Linked DNA regions of Homo sapiens: region 2 is linked to region 1. Evidence: promoter capture Hi-C in 16 types of primary human blood cells and fetal thymus (Javierre and others, 2016). All regions are on one chromosome and are shown on one strand. The core of a region is centred on a gene start or on the middle of the fragment in contact, and the rest is flanking DNA. Distances in the headings are between cores, read along the strand shown. Region 1 holds the start of ADO (2-aminoethanethiol dioxygenase). Region 2 overlaps ARID5B (AT-rich interaction domain 5B).

What was found. Contacts are between HindIII fragments. The CHiCAGO score rates a contact against its expected background, and 5 or more counts as called.
Region 2: a fragment that was not itself captured here is called in contact with the fragment with the promoter of ADO in region 1 in 1 of 17 cell types (neutrophils); the score reaches 6.0 in neutrophils.

Annotation. Positions count from the first base shown.
Region 1 is chr10:62,803,159-62,806,834 of GRCh38, forward strand. ADO (2-aminoethanethiol dioxygenase) reads left to right here and starts at 1,562. Exons shown (of 1, transcript NM_032804.6): 1 at 1,562-3,676. The coding sequence starts at 1,902. The coding sequence ends at 2,714. RefSeq lists enhancers at 1,317-1,576, 2,047-2,166 and a silencer at 1,617-1,866. The HindIII fragment of the contact is 5,397 bases long and covers 1-3,676 here.
Region 2 is chr10:62,049,519-62,053,194 of GRCh38, forward strand. ARID5B (AT-rich interaction domain 5B) reads left to right here. Exons shown (of 10, transcript NM_032199.3): 5 at 1,370-1,482. Among named protein-coding and RNA genes, the nearest start is that of ARID5B, 150 kb to the left of the region's middle. RefSeq lists an enhancer at 965-2,164. The HindIII fragment of the contact is 5,648 bases long and covers 1-3,676 here.

The DNA of each region.
Region 1 (3,676 bases), core at 312-2,811:
ACAAACAAACAAACAAAAAAAAACCACACACAAAAAAATAGGCTTCACTCCAGTTCTTCTGAATCAAAATCTCTGAGGTGTGACCCCAAGATCTTTATTTTTTAAGCTCTCCAGGGGGTTCTGATGAGTAGGGTTCAGAACTTTTGTTCCCTTAACACCGGCATTCTACAAATGAATAAATTGAGGCCCTAAAAGGGTAGGATTTGCCTAACGACACACAGCTTGTAAGTACACACAGTAGGCTGGAACAACAATATCCTGACTCTCGTTTGGTGCTTTTACACCAATTCAAGCTGCTGTTTTTGGTAAGACTGTACTTATTTCTGCTCTGCTGCTCATGCTTTGCTGGGTACTTAGTATTCACTATCCTACAACTTATTCCCTCATCTGCAATCTGGGAATAATAATAGTGCCTGCCTCTTAAGAGTTGCTGCAAGGATTAAATAGTATAACATTCATTATATAATGCACTTAACACAGTGCCTGGCATATTGTGAGTACTCATTAGCCAGGTTATGTAATCCACTTTAAAAAGTATGCCTATTTTAACTGGAGAGGATTCACTGAACCACTCCAATTACAAAATGTACAAGAAACCCATGTTCAGCTTTGGAATCCAAAAAGACTTTAAACTCAGGGTTAAGTTTAAAGTCATAGTATCTAATGTCTTGCTTTTCTAGTCATTTACTTATGCCAAAAGTTAGTTCACGCCAAGGAGAAGGATGCCTCTGTGTAGTGAAACAATTTCACAATTACTGACTGAACTGACTGTTGCACACCACTATTTCTCCTAGGATGCCTCAGAACCATCTAGTAACTCCATCTCTGGGTGACGACAGGGAATCTGCATTTATAAAAGCCCGCTCCCCCTTCTCAGGCAAACCAAGATTTGATAACCACTAGTATGTTCAGAATCCACGACCACTGTAAATGGCCTCTCAAGTCTCTCCAGCAAAAAGCTATACTGCTCTGTAACCAGAAGAGCAGCGTCATCAGGTCCTGATGCAAACAACAGCTGGGCCCAGCTGGGCCCAGCTGGGCCGAGTAACCTTGATGATCACAGAGGACGGCCTGGACCCCCTCCCCTCCTAGGAAACACAAAATTATAAAAGCGCCCTCCTGCAATTCCCGTGGGAGACAGTGCTGCCTAGGCCGCTACGAGGAGCTAAGGCTGACTCAACAGCCTCCTTCCCAGGGGCAAGGCCAAAGGAAGGCGACCCTGCATGGCTAACCAGGCCCCAGCGCGGCGCCAGAAGGTTAACGACCCTCCCTGCCCCTTTCCTTATGAAGGCCAAGAGCCTCCACTACTCCGGGGGCCAGCTGACGGAAGTGCGTCACTCCACCCTGCGGGGAGTGCCGGGAGTTGTAGTCAAGTGGCTACTAATCTTCCACCCCGATTCATCTTTTCTAAAACAAGAAAAACACCTCTGCATCCTGAAAAAGATCGCTTTATGCCCAACATGTGTAATAGTTCCTCTATTTTCCAATCAACAAACTGAACTATCTCAGAGCTCAAGCGGAAGGCCGGACTACAAGTCCCGGCATGCTCCGCAGGGTCCCCGGGCGCCCGGCCACCGTCGTAGGTGCGGGCCGCATGAATGGAGCGCCGGGCGTAAGGCAAAGCCTGGCACCGTCTGCGCGGCCGCTATCTGCTCCCGGAGCGTGAGTGCGGGGTGTGGGGCGTGCGCGTGCGCGCTCAGAGGGGGCTCAAGGCGAGCGCGCCGGGCAGTTGCGGGCGCGTGGCTGCTGAGGTTGGCGGCGGTGCCGCGCGCCCGACGGGCCGGTGGTTGCGGGGCCTCCCGCCTCGACCCGGGCTGGGGGCAGCCGTGGCGGCCGCCGGGGACCGCAAGGGGCGGAGGAAAGGAGGGGGCCGGTCCCGGCACGCAGAGGAGCAGCCGACCATGCCCCGAGACAACATGGCCTCCTTGATCCAACGGATCGCCCGCCAGGCTTGCCTCACCTTCCGGGGCAGCGGGGGCGGCCGCGGCGCTTCCGATCGCGACGCGGCTTCTGGCCCGGAGGCGCCGATGCAGCCGGGCTTCCCCGAGAACCTGAGCAAGCTGAAGAGCCTCCTGACCCAGCTCCGCGCCGAGGACTTGAACATCGCCCCGCGCAAGGCCACACTGCAGCCGCTGCCGCCCAACCTGCCGCCAGTCACCTACATGCACATCTACGAGACGGACGGCTTCAGCCTGGGCGTGTTCCTGCTCAAGAGCGGCACGTCCATCCCGCTGCACGACCACCCGGGCATGCACGGCATGCTCAAGGTGCTGTACGGCACCGTGCGCATCAGCTGCATGGACAAGCTAGACGCGGGCGGCGGGCAACGGCCGCGGGCCTTGCCGCCCGAGCAGCAGTTCGAGCCGCCGCTGCAGCCCCGGGAGCGAGAAGCCGTGCGGCCGGGCGTGCTGCGTTCGCGGGCCGAGTACACCGAGGCCAGCGGCCCCTGCATCCTCACACCGCACCGGGACAACCTGCACCAGATCGACGCCGTGGAAGGGCCTGCCGCCTTCCTGGACATCCTGGCCCCGCCCTACGACCCGGACGATGGCCGGGACTGCCACTATTACCGGGTGCTGGAGCCGGTCAGGCCCAAGGAGGCCTCCAGCTCGGCCTGTGACCTGCCTCGAGAGGTGTGGCTCCTGGAGACCCCACAGGCCGATGACTTCTGGTGCGAGGGAGAACCCTATCCAGGTCCCAAGGTCTTCCCTTGAAGCCACTGGCGCCCAGGAGCGGTGGGCCGAAGACGTGCCCTACCCTACCACAAGGGCTGTGTCTCTACCCCCTAGCCTGGGCGTTGGATCTACTGGAATGAGCAGCAGCCGCTTCCTCGGCAGCCTTGGGAAGCACGGGCGACTGGACAGCAGCCGCCGGGCACGGTTATGGGGGCGGGGTGGGCGGGGAGGCTAGATTGTTTCCTGGTACTGTCACTGCCACTGGGGCTTTGATTTGGAGGAATGGGGCAGGGGACTATCTGAAGCGCTTCCATCCTAAAGCCATAATGAAAATATCTTCCTCTCTTCCCCATTCTATACAAAATACTAAGTGGTTTTCTTGCTCCCACTCCCTACCCCTTAGTTAAATAGGGTTTATTTTCCACTCATGCCCTTATGCCTTTTTTTCTTATAGTTTTTTAACTTATTGACTGTGCATGACCCAGTGGTTTGAATTGTTTTTAGTTCAAGTCATTGGTAAAAACTAGGTTTAAGGAGATGAGCTACTGTTTAAAGTGAGCTGGCCTGCCTAATTAATTCCTTGTGAAAACTAAATGATTTTTTCAGTTTGGGGATCATTCTCACAACATAACTATGCATGTAGAGGACAAGATTTATTTTCTTTCCTCCCTTTGCCCAGTAGCCACATCTGGTTTACTCAGGCAGCATCTACTAAGAAATTCAGCACCTGCATATCTCTGTGACATGGTCACTTAGAGCTTATCTTCCCTATGAATCTCCAGATCTGTGAGTCGAGCAGATTTCATGTTGCAGATTCACCTTTAATGCAAAGACTGTATTATCCTCACATGACTTTTTTTCTTGTCTTACTGTACCTTAAAAGGTGATAGAGTAATTCTGTATTTTCTAACGGGAAGATTCAAAGGAGCTGAATGTGTTATGCTTCCAAACAACTGAATGTAAAACACTCCTAGCCAGTTGTTGCATTCCCTATATTTATT
Region 2 (3,676 bases), core at 836-3,335, 750 kb before region 1:
GTGAGCTTGTTTACCTTTGGTAATTCCAGGCTGGCTTTCTGGGATGGACTTTCAGACCAGCGTTTAGGGGAATGAGAGGAGAGAGCGGGTGTGGGAAGGGGATCCTAAGCCCTAAAGCCTCTTTTTAAACTTTTGCCTCTCTGATTTTAAAGGCAGTTCTGCTTTACTGAGCTTCCACCAACAGTAAAACTGTTATCCGGAGGAGAAAATCAAATTAGTAGGATTAATTGTGTTTGTAAAATGAGTACAGTGTAAAAATGTCCTAAAACCACTGGTTAACTGCCTAAGTAAGATTAACAACAATCAAGAAGGTTCATGTTGTTTAGATTTGACATTGTCATAATCACTCCTTAAGTAATAAAAAGTGTGGGTGCCTTGAAAGGTCTGAAGGAAATTGTTTAGGGTATAATTCATTAGCTTGGAGTCATTCTAGGGGTGGTTGGTTAGTTGGTTGTTTTTAATTTTGCTTGACTTGGGTGACTGATGAAGTTAAATGTGAAAGCTGATGCCGGATAGTCATAGCTCTCAATAAACAGCAGCCTTTTCCCCCTACTTTCTGTGTAGATCTTAAAAGGAACAAGCTCAGCATCAAGGATGAAATAGAACTTTGATTTGTATCTTGTCTTTTCAAAAGTGTAACCCCCATGGAATCAGGCTAACCCCAGTGTAATCTTTGGATGTTATATTAAATAAGCCTTAAGATCTTCATAAAAATATATTGAAAAGGAAAAGACAGCATGCTGATTTAAATGTATCTGTCAGATTTGTTGAGATTTGAAACTTGCTGGTTGCAGTATTGTTAGTAAATATATGTAATAATGTTTTCCAGCTTGCTGTTGTGAATGCCCCTCTCTCTATAGCTATCTCTCTACTTATCTGTATGGTAATTTGAGAGAATGCCCTTGTCTCTGAATATTTTGTAAAAGAGATGTTTTCAAACATTTCATTACTATGATACCATAAGGGCAGGCATGTCACTTAGGTTTCGGAAAGCAAGATACAAAACAAAAACCAAAGATTGAGCTCAAAGCCTGGCTCAGTTTTTCAGCACCAAATGCTTCTTGTCTAACAACGTGGAAGGACATTTTTCTTATCATGATCCTTTAGAGCTAAGAGCTTCGTGTTACTTCTATTAATTAGACATGTTAAAGCTAAATAGATTAGCTTTGGGAAACGTGTACAGAAATGTATACTCTACCAATATGCAAGCCTTCAGAGAGAGAAGCATGTAATAATGAGGGCTGCCTGCCACAGATCTGTACATTTCTCTGAACAATTAGAAGGGATCACTGTAGTGAGATTCTGGGTCTTTAATAAAGAAACCCATGCAAGTGAAAATGTATATCAATTGTTTTCCATTTGTTTTCAGCGCCAAATCTTAAAGGCAGACCACGCAAAAAGAAACCATGCCCACAAAGAAGAGATTCATTCAGTGGTGTTAAGGATTCCAACAACAATTCCGATGGCAAAGCCGTTGCCAAGGTACGGTCATTCACTCCACGGTATTCATTTCGTTGCATCTTTTTATTTTTGCTTTTTCTCTTTATCTCTCTGTGCCTGTGTCTTGGAGGCAGTTTTCAATTCAGCATCTGACTTTGGTATTCAGAGCTTTTGAAGCTCTATGCTGTGCCTGTTCCTGCCACCTCCCTTCCCCTGGTTGCCGTGGGCTGGGGGAGGTAGGCATTTTGATTAGTCAACAGAAAGACTTCCTACCTCCCAGTTTGGCCTGTTATGAGTAAAGGACAGATGATTAAGCACCCACGTCATTGAGGCTGAGATTTCATAGTGGGTGACACAATGACATAGTTTACTCTGCTTGTGTCAAAAATAGACCAGCTGAACCGTCCTCTTTCTGAATGTGTTCATCTAAATGTGTTTTGGAGATTAACAGAGGATGAAATTAGAAATAGCTAGAATTAATCTTTTTAGTTATGTATTTTTCAAAGTCACTTCTAATTTACATTAGACTAAAATTAAAGATACATAGCAAAATATTTAGATGTATACATATGCCCACAAGCATTTATATACTTTTAAAGATCTCTGTTAACATAGAATGAAAGTAAATTCTACGCTGTTGTTCAAGACCCAGGTCAATTTTTTACCTAAGCATTCTTTGGAATCTTGAAAGTGCATGCATGCCTGAAGTATTTTGCACGACAAAGGGTAAAGTATCACTTTATATTTTTAGACTTACCTTTCTGACTTTTGTGGGCTTGGGTCAGATTTCCATGGTTCTGTTTACTGCATTTAGGTGTTATTTTTGTGCTAAAGACAGCAATCGTCCCTTTAGGATTTTAGTTGACGAACAGATTTCAACTGACACCAGTTTCCAGATCAAATAACTAAACTTCTGAAAATGGGACCATTTTGATTAGTGGTGAATTTGGAAGAGTCTGATGTAGAAAAAAAAAAACATGAGTTAAGTTCTGTGTTGACAGTCTACTGTTTCTCTGCCATGTACTCTACCTCCTTCCCAGTGTAATGAAGTAAATCTTAGACTTTCACATTCTAAAAAATCTTATCTTTAAGCATCATTGTTTCATTAGGAAATTTTAAGGACTTTTTTGCTTAGAATTTCTTCATACTTCTAAGATTCCAAAGGGTTAAGAAGAGATCAACCAGTAGAAATGTGTATTTTCCAGTTTCTTGCTGAAAACAAATCTCTTTCCCTAAAGTTATTGTTGTTTTGCACATTTAACTTTCTGCGAATTAACTCCACATGGATGCCATGAATGACATTTTCTTGTAAGTTGGACACCTCAGCCCTAGAACTATCTACCTAGGACTTTGGTTTCCATCGTCTTGAAGGATGTCAGCAGGAACAGTTCATTCCCTACTATGTAGTTTGCAAGATCCTGCAGAATGGCGCAAGAAGGTTTCAAGACCATAACATTCAGCAGAGCTTGTACTGCCCATGCCTTCTGTTGGTGCCCAGCCCATCCTTCTTGGTTGACAGCATTTGTTTACTCCAGCATATTCTGTACCTGAGCCCGGCAGGATAAAGCTCCTTCCCATGCCACTTGGAATCACCACCAAGGTCTGCTTCTGAGAATTTTACAGAACTCATACAATTGATCTGAAAGAGCAGACCTCCAATGTTTCTTTCCATGGAAGGCAGCTCAGAACTCACTGTTGGGTTCACAAAGCCGAGAAGAACAAGAGCCTGCTATACAGATGGGCCATATTTGATGTTCACTGACTTCTTAACAAGAAGGATAGAAGTCAGTCCTGGGTTTTCTAAGTGACGCCTTTACTCCATCCCCGCAACAGTGCTGCCCGTCAGAATCTTTACAAAGAGATGGATCATTCTTCCACCGTTGGTGTTCAATGGTGAACAGATGAATGTCATGCTGCAGTCAGCTCCTAGGGACTGGTCTAATGGCTTGGCTCTTTTCAGAGTCTTGGATTACAGTCATGCCTTGGCTGCTTCCAGTGGGTCTGGCAAGACCACTTAAGCAAAAAGATCAGTAGGTATGAAGTGTGACGAGCTTGTCTGTTGACACCAACAGGCAGATGTAAAATCCCTACAGAATGAACAAGCCACATCTGGGATGAGGACAGTCATTAAAAAGCATGTGTGTCTTAACATGGTCTTTTCTCATGAAACACTGCAGTAGAGATTATGAGTCTGTGACCATCTAATCATCTGTTGAATTGAAAGCAGCATCTTAGA